Regions from separate parts of the Homo sapiens genome. Here regions 1 and 3 are each linked to region 2. Evidence: promoter capture Hi-C in 16 types of primary human blood cells and fetal thymus (Javierre and others, 2016). All regions are on one chromosome and are shown on one strand. Each heading gives the region's core, a stretch centred on a gene start or on the middle of the fragment in contact. The rest is flanking DNA. Distances are from core to core; before and after follow the strand shown.

Region 1 (3,046 bases), core at 184-2,683, 300 kb before region 2:
ACACACCCTAAAACCCAACTGCACTGATTGGGAACTTTAGATGTTATCTGAGTTCCCTCTTTTGCACTCTCTCTAGTGATATTTGTGTACATTTCTCCTCCACTAGACTATAAGCGTAAGGGAGGGGCAGTGTCTTCTTCATCTTGCTAGCCTCCGTGTTGTCAAACAGTGTCTTAGACATAGCAGACTCGCAGTACATGGTTGTTTAAACAAGAAAGACTACTCTAGGTGTTCAAAATAATTTTTGTGTGCACCCCAATCTCATCTTTCACGTCACTTTTCATATTCCAAAATAAACTGCCAACACACAGATTTAATGAACCCAATCACTATTATCTTCTGTTGTAACCTAAAAGGCACAGTAGGTTTTAGAGGTTGGAAATTAGGCCATAATCCTGACAGTCACTACTCCTGTACTGCATGCTTATCAGAGAACATTCAATTGGGCTGGCTGATTCTCTTCTCAATGAATACTCATGGACTTTCTTTCAGAAGGGTTGTGAATTTTTAAATTGACAATTGTGCATGACCAAAACATTAAAAGTTGAGACTCCATTAGAATTGGAATGTCAGCTGGAGAATGGTTGGGAATATTAGTTTGACAGTTTTGAGTCTGAACTCCCACTCTTCTTTGCGAAGACATGTAAGAAGTCTCTGAAACACAATAGAAGATAATAAGGAACATCCTAGAAAGGCAGTCAGAGGTGAGAATTAAACTCACTACCCAGGAGGAAGACAAAATTGAATAAAAGTCATTGGCAGCATTCTGCTTGGGTGTGTATGTGGTGGGGGCAGCTGGCTCAGAAACTGGACCTCAGCAGCCGTAACTGGACTGTAGGCAATCTAATAGACAAAAAGGCTTGGGGAGATTTTGGAGTTTTCCTTAGCATGATAATAATAGACATGGCTAACTAAGGGTTTATTATGCACTAGACAGTATCGTGTGATGTACTGGCTTTTAATTTCCAGATTGATGGTAACTGGGATGACTTTTTTTCTCCAGAAAAAAAATTGTATTTTATTTTTCCAAATTATTATGATAAATGGGACTTTTGAAAAAGAATTTTCAGACAAGCTTGTAAGATAGAAAGTAAGCTTTGAAGGTAGGAATGTCTTATTCCCATGGACCCACTCCATGACCCCACTACTCAGAGGCAAACCATACCAGGAGTGTGAACTGTCTCCTTTAAGTACAAGATGGGGACAATTCCTTGTACTCATCTGGCCACAATATATAACAAACTGTGGCACACAAGTTTCAGATAAAATCTAGCAATTTTTTGAGTACTCTATAAAGCCCTAACTTTAACACAAGCCCTGAGGACTGCAAGGGACCAATAATCAGTCCCAAGGTGATGCTTGTTATCAGTGGGTGGGGTTAGGAAAGCTGCTCCTGGGGTAAGAGTTGAGCCTCTTTTATCATTTCCTTCACACCATGCACCTGGCTAACCCTTATAACAATGGGCTTGCAGAGGAAGCCCAAAATATTGGGGAAGTGCAGGCATCATCTCATTCTCTCAAAAAGCCTCATCAGAGAAGGTTTGTGGTGGCATCATGGAACCACAGGACAAAAGGCACAAGAGGGAACGAGAGCCTGACACAGACAGTGACACCAATTCTGAGTCAGGCTTGGACTTAAGCAAGACAACGGAACAGACAGCTGCAGTAGAAGGTGTGAGGGAATTCTAAAACTAAATGATGAGGCGGGGCTAGAGACAACCTTTAGGGGCTTGAGGTCCCCCACCAATGGGGAGATAGTGTGTGAAGCTTTTCATTATTCATCAAATGTTTACTGTTTAGTTTATAGCTGGCACTCTGCAGTGAATAGAACATGCATGGTCCAAAGTATTTCATGTATTTAACTTTCCAAACAACTGAAACTTTAAATTATCTGAATCTTAAATACCTTCTATGGGATATTTTCTTTTTCTTTTCTTTCTTTTTTTTTTTTTGAGATGGAGTTTCGCTCTTGTTGCCTAGGCTGGAGTGCAATGGCATGATCTCTGCTCACCACAACCTCTGCCTCCCAGGTTCAAGTGATTCTCCTGCCTCAGCCTCCTGAATAGCTGGGATTACAGGCATGCGCCACCACGCTTGGCTAATTTTGTGTTTTTAGTAGAGACAGGGTTTCTCCATGTTCGTCAGGCTGGTCTCGAACTCCCGACCTCAGGTGATCTGCCCGCCTCGGCCTCCCAAAGTGCTGGGATTACAGGTGTGAACTACTGCACCCAGCCAGGATATTTTCTTTTATTATTATTATTATTTTTTAAAATTATACTTTAAGTTTTAGGGTACATGTGCACAACATGCAGGCTTGTTACATATGTATACATGTGCCATGTTGGTGTGCTGCACCCATTAACTCGTCATTTATATTAGGTATATCTCCTAATGCTATCCCTCCACCCTCCCCCCACCCCACAACAGGCCCCGGTGTGTGATGTTCCCCTTCCTGTGTCCAAGTGTTCTCACTGTTCAATTCCCACCTATGAGTGAGAACATACGGTGTTTGGTTTTTTGTCCTTGCGATAGTTTGCTAAGAATGATGGTTTCCAGCTTCATCCATGTCCCTACAAAGGACATGAACTCATCCTTTTTTATGGCTGCATAGTATTCCAAGGTGTATATGTGCCACATTTTCTTAATCCAGTCTATCATTGTTGGACATTTGGCTTGCTTCCAAGACTTTGCTATTGTGAATGGTGCTGCAATAAACATACGTGTGTATGTGTCTTTATAGCAGCATGACTTATAATCCTTTGGGTATATACCCAGAAATGGGATGGCTGGGTCAAATGGTATTTCTAGTTCTAGATCCCTGAGGAATCGCCACACTGTCTTCCACAATGGTTGAACTAGTTTACAGTCCCACCAACAGTGTAAAAGTGTTCCTATTTCTCCATATCCTCTCCAGCACCTGTTGTTTCCTGACTTTTTAATGATTGCCATTCTAACTGGTGTGAGATGGTATCTCATTGTGGTTTTGATTTGCATTTCTCTGATGGCCGGGCAGAATATTTTCTAATATCATGTTTGTTACACATTT
Region 2 (3,059 bases), core at 57-2,556:
TCCAGCCTGGGCAACAAGAGCGAAACTGTGTCTCAGGAAAAAAAAAAAAAGGCTAAGCAGTATTTGTAGGGGAGGGAGGTAAAATTAATGAGAAACCCAAGAGTACAGCTTTAAAAGGAGAAATGCTTATTCCACCACATTCATTAAATGACCCTTCAGAACTGTACTAGAATCTTGGAAAACAATTCTTGCTCAGATCATTAAAATGATCTTTTCCGCACATCTAAAATAGAGTTCAGACTCTCGATAAAAAAAAGCATTTACTATAAGGAAAAAGTGGTAGGTTTTGATCGAGTTTTCTGATTTTCCTGAATATCAGTAACTAAGCACAATGGAAGTTGGCATGTAGAGTATAACAAAGGCAATATCAGGTAGATAAAGCCAACTCCTCAGCATTATTAGCTTTCCAATGGATGAGTACGAAGCACTAGGCATTTTGTCCAGTGAAACCAGATTGCCTGGATTCCATGGTGACCCGACCACTGTCCAGCTGTGAGACCTTGGGCACTTGCTTCACTTCTTTCCAGAGGTGTGAGGACTAAATTAGTCCTGTTTTTAGTGGTTACAACAGTGCGCGGCTTAAGGGAATCGCTTAAAACAGCTTATAATCAGTACTCCAAGATCACAGGCAGCGCATGCGCAAGTGCCAGTCAGTGGGAGAGTCCGTCGCGCTCCGGATCTGTGTGCGCGCTCCGGATCTGTGTGCGCGCTCCGGATCTGTGTGCGCGCTCCGGATCTGTGTGCGCGCTCCGGATCTGTGTGCGCGCTCCGGATCTGTGTGCGCGCTCCGGATCTGTGTGCGCGCTCCGGATCTGTGTGCGCATGCGCGCCGCTGCCGGGTCGCTAGGGACGCGGCTCAGCACCTTCCCTGCACCCACCCTCCAATTACTAAGTCTCCCGAGGTCCGGCTTCTGGGGTAGCCAGTGGAGCGAAACAGAAGCGGGAGGCCTCAGGCACCCGCGCAAAGGCTAGAGGGCAGCCCTGCAGCCCTGGGGTGGCGCCTCCGGCAGGAATGGACCGCTGTTCCAGCTCTGCGGCGGCGCAGCCTAAAGGATCGAGACTGAGAGCTAAGTCTCGACGAGGCAGGACGCGGTCCTCCAGCCGCCCGAGCTCCGCCAGCCGCCCCAAGCTCGCCGCCTGGCGGGGTACGCCTCCGGGTCAAGGGCGCGGAGCCCCGAGTAGGCTGACCTGGATCGGAATCGACAGCAGGAGCCGTGTCTGTCTGCTTCTGTCCTGGGGCCCTCACCGCGACGGTCGGAGCAGTTGGGCGCTCGCAGCCACCGCCGCGTAACCATGGAGATGGAAGGCTCCGGACCAGAGGGGGCGGGGCCAGGTGGGGGTGGGGCGGGGTCCCACTTTGAGGGTCTTTCCCCCAAAAGATGGGCTGGAAAAACTTTAAAAACAAAGGAATTTCAGGCAGAGACATCTTAACCTCCGTGGTTAAGACTGTGAAACACAAGTTCTCGTAAATAAGGATATTAACTTGCTAGCGTGGGAATGATGAGGCGGCTTTGAAAGCGGGGTGGGGGAGAGGGAGGAGCCAGTTGGAGAGGCTGGGAAAACGGAAGGGCTGTATCCTGGGCAAATAGAGTTCTTGTAAAAGTATCTAGTTTTAAAAAACAAAAGTAAAAAGTATCGAGGTTTTATTTCATGTCCCGTTGTTCAAAGGAAGTCTGTAACAGAACGCTCCAAGATGCCCGAAGAGAAAACTGCTCATTCAAGAAGCACATGATAAGAACACATTAGTGTCCGAGTCAAAATAATGAGGTTTTATCCCTTAACGATAATATCGTTAGGCCCACCTTCAGACGTGAAAGTGTGAAAAAGGATTAAATACTCATTAGAAGGAGAGCATCAAACAACAAGGTTTTATTTTTAAACAGTAATTTTTCTCAAACTGCAAACAAATATGCAGAATATGCTTTGCTTAAGGACATTCCCTGATTACTAGGAAATGAATCAACACAAAAACTCAAGAATATACATCATAATATAACACAATTTTATTTCCGCCTTCTAGAAAATGTTCCCGGAATGTGGAAGAAGCTTGTGTAAAAATAGATGTTCAGAGTAACAAGATTTATAATAGCACAGCCTTAGAAATCTAAACACGTTATTTAAGTAAAATATCAGGCAGGTATTTAAAATTATGTTAACAAAAACCTTGTGTTTGTCTTATATTTGTTAAAAGCCAAATGCGAAATTTTTATATAATATGACTTAAACTATATTGACATACATATAATGCACAAAAAGTGTAGGTCAGTTTTTCAAAATCACAGCAAGCAATTAGATCTAAGGATGGAATTATAGGTAAATTACTTTTATTTCTTTATACTTTTCTGTTTTTTCTAGATTTTTCCATAATGAGTATATATTGTCTTATGATCTATAAAACAAAATTTAAAAATACAAGGGAGATGAGACTGGCTATTTGTAGAGAATGAACCCAATTTAGATATACAAATATACTGTAAGTATACAAGGTAAAGCAACCAAAGGACGGTGAGATAGCAAAATTTTAACAGTGGTTGTAACTTTGTAATGGCTTATGGCTGATTTGTCTTCTTTATACTTTAAGATAGCTACCAAAATGTCTTCCATGAGCATATATTATATATTAGAATATTAAATATCTTTTAAGATGGTAAGAATAATACCATCATATTAAGTATAGTTTTAAACTAATGGGCAAATCCTGGCACAAATACTCCCTGAAGTATGTTTGATACTGTTAATTCCTACTTAATGTCAATGTTTTCTTCTCTTTCTGTTACTAATTTAACCCTGTGTTGGGAATGACAGTGTTCTCTTTTAAAAAAAAAAATCTCTCAACCTCTTTCTCAGTGAGAGTGGCCTGTGACATGGTCTAGCCAATGAGATGTAAGTGTAATCACTGGATGAGGTGTCAGGGAAAGCACTTCCATTTTATGTCTATTGCCTTTCCTTTTCTTTCTACTTGAAATGAGAATATGCTGGCTGAAGCTCCAGCAGCCTTGCTGTGAACATAAACATGAGGGTCACATCTTAAGGATGGTGGAACAAAAATGAAAAAGGAA
Region 3 (3,083 bases), core at 298-2,797, 280 kb before region 2:
TCAAGCGATTCTCCTGCCTTAGCCTTCTGAGTAGCGGGGATTACAGGCGTGCGCCGCCACACCCAGCTAATTTTTGTATTTTTAGTAGAGACAGGGTTTTGCCATGTTGGCCAAGCTGGTCTTGAACTCCTGACCTCAGGTGATCTGCCCACCTCTGTCTCCCAAAGTGCTGGGATTACAGGCATGAGCCACCGCGCCCAGCCCATTGTGATTTATTTTAACATTAAATGCTAATAGAATTTTGATTAAGTGTAGTAATGTACTACTGGAGAGGGTAGTAGATGTTAAGAACTTGGGCCCTGAGGTCAAACCTGGCTCTGCCATGTTCAAGCCGTGTGACATTGCAGAAGACACTGAAGCAGAGCCTCATTTTTCTCATCTCAGGAAATGTGCACATGATGATAGTAGCATATGCCTCTTAGGGTTGTGAGAATTAAGAGCATTTACTGGCCAAGTGATGGAAATGGTCTCAAGAAGGCAACCTCAAATGGGACTTTTACTCACCAGCAAGTTTGCCTTTCAGTGACTAAGCCTGCCTTCTACAAAAGAGTTGCCATCAAATCACAGTTTTTTCATTGTTTTTAGTACCAGCACTACTGACATTTGAGCCTGTCCTGTTCTAGTATCATCGAGGATTAAACAATTATTAAAGCACTGTATATAGTGAGGGAAAGATTCCACTTTTCTCCAAAGTAACTTTATCCTCTTGATTATTCCATTTCTTCTCTCAATTGGATCTTTGCTTTTGGCTTTATATATTCACAAGCCTTCCATGAGAAAGTAAAAGAACAAAACATACTCATTTTCCTCCAGCTATCTTCCAGATTTCCTCCACTTCAAAATCAAATTCAGAGAGCTTTCAAATAGTCTGTTTGCTTCCATTTCTTCAGTTCTTAATTCCTGACATGCCTCAAGCAGCTCCTGTCAGGTCATCAGTGACTTCCATGACACTCAATCAGTCCTCCTCTTATTTGACCTTTCTTTCAGCATTCTGCCTGCTGGCACACTCCTTTCTTTTTGAAATGGCCTTTTTCTCCTTTGACTACAATTTCCCTCTACTCCCTAGCTGTTCTTCTCTTTACCTGGGCATTAAACCTTGCAGTTCTTTAGTTCTAGCTTTAGCTCCATGCTTATGTCACTTAATAGCTCCCTAAGCAGTCACATGCCTGCTCCTGACTTCAGTTTCCATTTACAGATGTCTCTTTAATTTGTATCTTCAGTTGGTTCAGACAGTTCCTCTTTAGTTGCAGCCATGGGAAATGTGGACTTTTTTTTTTTTTTTTTTTTTTTTTAAGATGAGGTTTTGCCCTGTTTCCCAGGCTGGAGTGCAGTGGTGCGATCTCGGCTCACTGCAACCTCTGCCTCCTGGGTTCAAGCAATTCTCCTGCCTCAGCCACCCAAGTAGCTGGGATTACAGATGTGTATCACCATGCCCGGCTAATTTTTGTATTTTTAGTAGAGACAGTTTCACCATGTTGGCCAGGCTGGTCTCCAACTCCTAGCCTCAAGTGATCTGCCCACCTTGGCCTCCAGAGTGCCGGGATTATAGGTGTGAGCCACCACGCCCAGCCTAATTTGGACTTTTTATCGTCAGATCTTGGTAGCCTTCGCTCCACCACTAGAAGTCAGAACTTTTGTGAAATCGATTGACTTTTAAATGTTCACAACTAATTTACAAAATACATGGGATAAATAAGAGATGTATGTAGACTTCTAATGAGTGTCTTATGGTGTGAGAGGTGGTCTTTTTGTTGTTGTTGTTGAAACCGTCTCACTCTGTTGCCCAGGCTGGAGTGCAGTGGTGCAGTCTCCGCTCGCTGCAACCTCCATCTCCTGGATTCAAGTGATTCTCCTGCTTCAGCTTCCCTAGTAGCTGGGATTACAGGTGCCCGCCATTATGCCCGTTTAACTTTTGTATTTTTAGTAGAGATAGGGTTTTACCATGTTGGCCAGACTGGTCTTGAACTCCTGACCTCAAGCCATCTGCCCACCTTGGCCTCCCAAAGTGCTGGGATTACTGGCATGAGTGACCGTGCCTGGCCTGAGAGGTGGTCTTAATTCCTCTTTTTAATAAGTGGTCATGTTGGTAAAGTAAATGAATTGCTTCATCATCAGTCACATAATGACGAATATGAATTTCCTTTTTTAAAGTGTATAAGGAGAGATGAAATAATCATTGTATATAGGTTAATGTCATGTAATGAGTTTTCCTAAGTAGGTCCAATCAAGTTAAATTAATTTGCAGAATATTTTCCTCCTACAGGAGGGGTATGTCTGACTTAGAATTACACTTGATCTTAGCCAAAAGGCTGAGAAGCAATGAACTGACAACTGCAAAAACCATTCAGGTGAGGGTGGCAAAATGATTTTAAGTTAGCTTAGGTATTTTCCTACTTGTAATAACCTTGCTGCTAATGTCTTGCTTTCCTTCCTCTCCACTCCTTAGTATGTCCAATAGTAAACCACTTTTTAAAAAATGTTCAATTAAGAGTTGGTTTTTTTTGTTTTTTTGGTTTTTTTTTTTTTGAGATGGAGTTTCGCTGTTGTTGCCCAGGCTGGAGTTCAATGGCGTCATCTCAGCTCACTGAAACCTCTGCCTCCCAAGCTCAAGCGATTCTCAGCCTCCCAAGTAGCTGGGATTACAGGCTCCTGCCACCATGCTCAGCTAATTTTTTTGTAGTTTTAGTAGAGACAGGGTTTCACCATGTTGGCCAGGCTGGCCTCCAACTCCTGACCTCAAGTGACCAACTGCCTTGGCCTCCCAAAGTGCTAGGATTACAGGCGTGAGCCACCGCCCGTGGCCAAGAGAGTTGTTATTTTAAGCAGGGGCTAGAAACTTTAAATACGCATAGTTCCAGATGTGTAAATGATTTAAAGTAAACTAGGAGGGAACTAGTGAATTCCAGTCCTGACCGGCAGCATCACCTCATAAGGAACGTAGAATCTTAAGCTCCACCCTTCAGAGTCTACATTTTAACAAGATCTGGAGGTAATCTGTGTGTGCATTAAAATTGTAGAAGCACTTGAGAACTTAGGCCCAAAAGGTAACAGTCACTTTGAATCTTCAGCTGAGTTTTGCTGTG

The links. Contacts are between HindIII fragments. The CHiCAGO score rates a contact against its expected background, and 5 or more counts as called.
Region 1: a fragment that was not itself captured here is called in contact with the fragment with the promoter of CFAP206 in region 2 in 2 of 17 cell types (total CD8 T cells and fetal thymus); the score reaches 6.3 in total CD8 T cells.
Region 3: a fragment that was not itself captured here is called in contact with the fragment with the promoter of CFAP206 in region 2 in 2 of 17 cell types (fetal thymus and naive CD8 T cells); the score reaches 6.6 in fetal thymus.

The regions. Positions count from the first base shown.
Region 1 is chr6:87,708,793-87,711,838 of GRCh38, reverse strand. No RefSeq gene overlaps it. Among named protein-coding and RNA genes, the nearest start is that of AKIRIN2, 8.1 kb to the right of the region's middle. RefSeq lists an enhancer at 1,498-1,637. The HindIII fragment of the contact is 672 bases long and covers 1,098-1,769 here.
Region 2 is chr6:87,406,219-87,409,277 of GRCh38, reverse strand. CFAP206 (cilia and flagella associated protein 206) reads right to left here and starts at 1,306. Exons shown (of 13, transcript NM_001031743.3): 1 at 1,189-1,306. The HindIII fragment of the contact is 4,290 bases long and covers 1-2,048 here.
Region 3 is chr6:87,689,650-87,692,732 of GRCh38, reverse strand. All of the region lies in intron 1 of AKIRIN2 (akirin 2), which reads left to right. Among named protein-coding and RNA genes, the nearest start is that of AKIRIN2, 11 kb to the left of the region's middle. The HindIII fragment of the contact is 9,255 bases long and covers 1-3,083 here.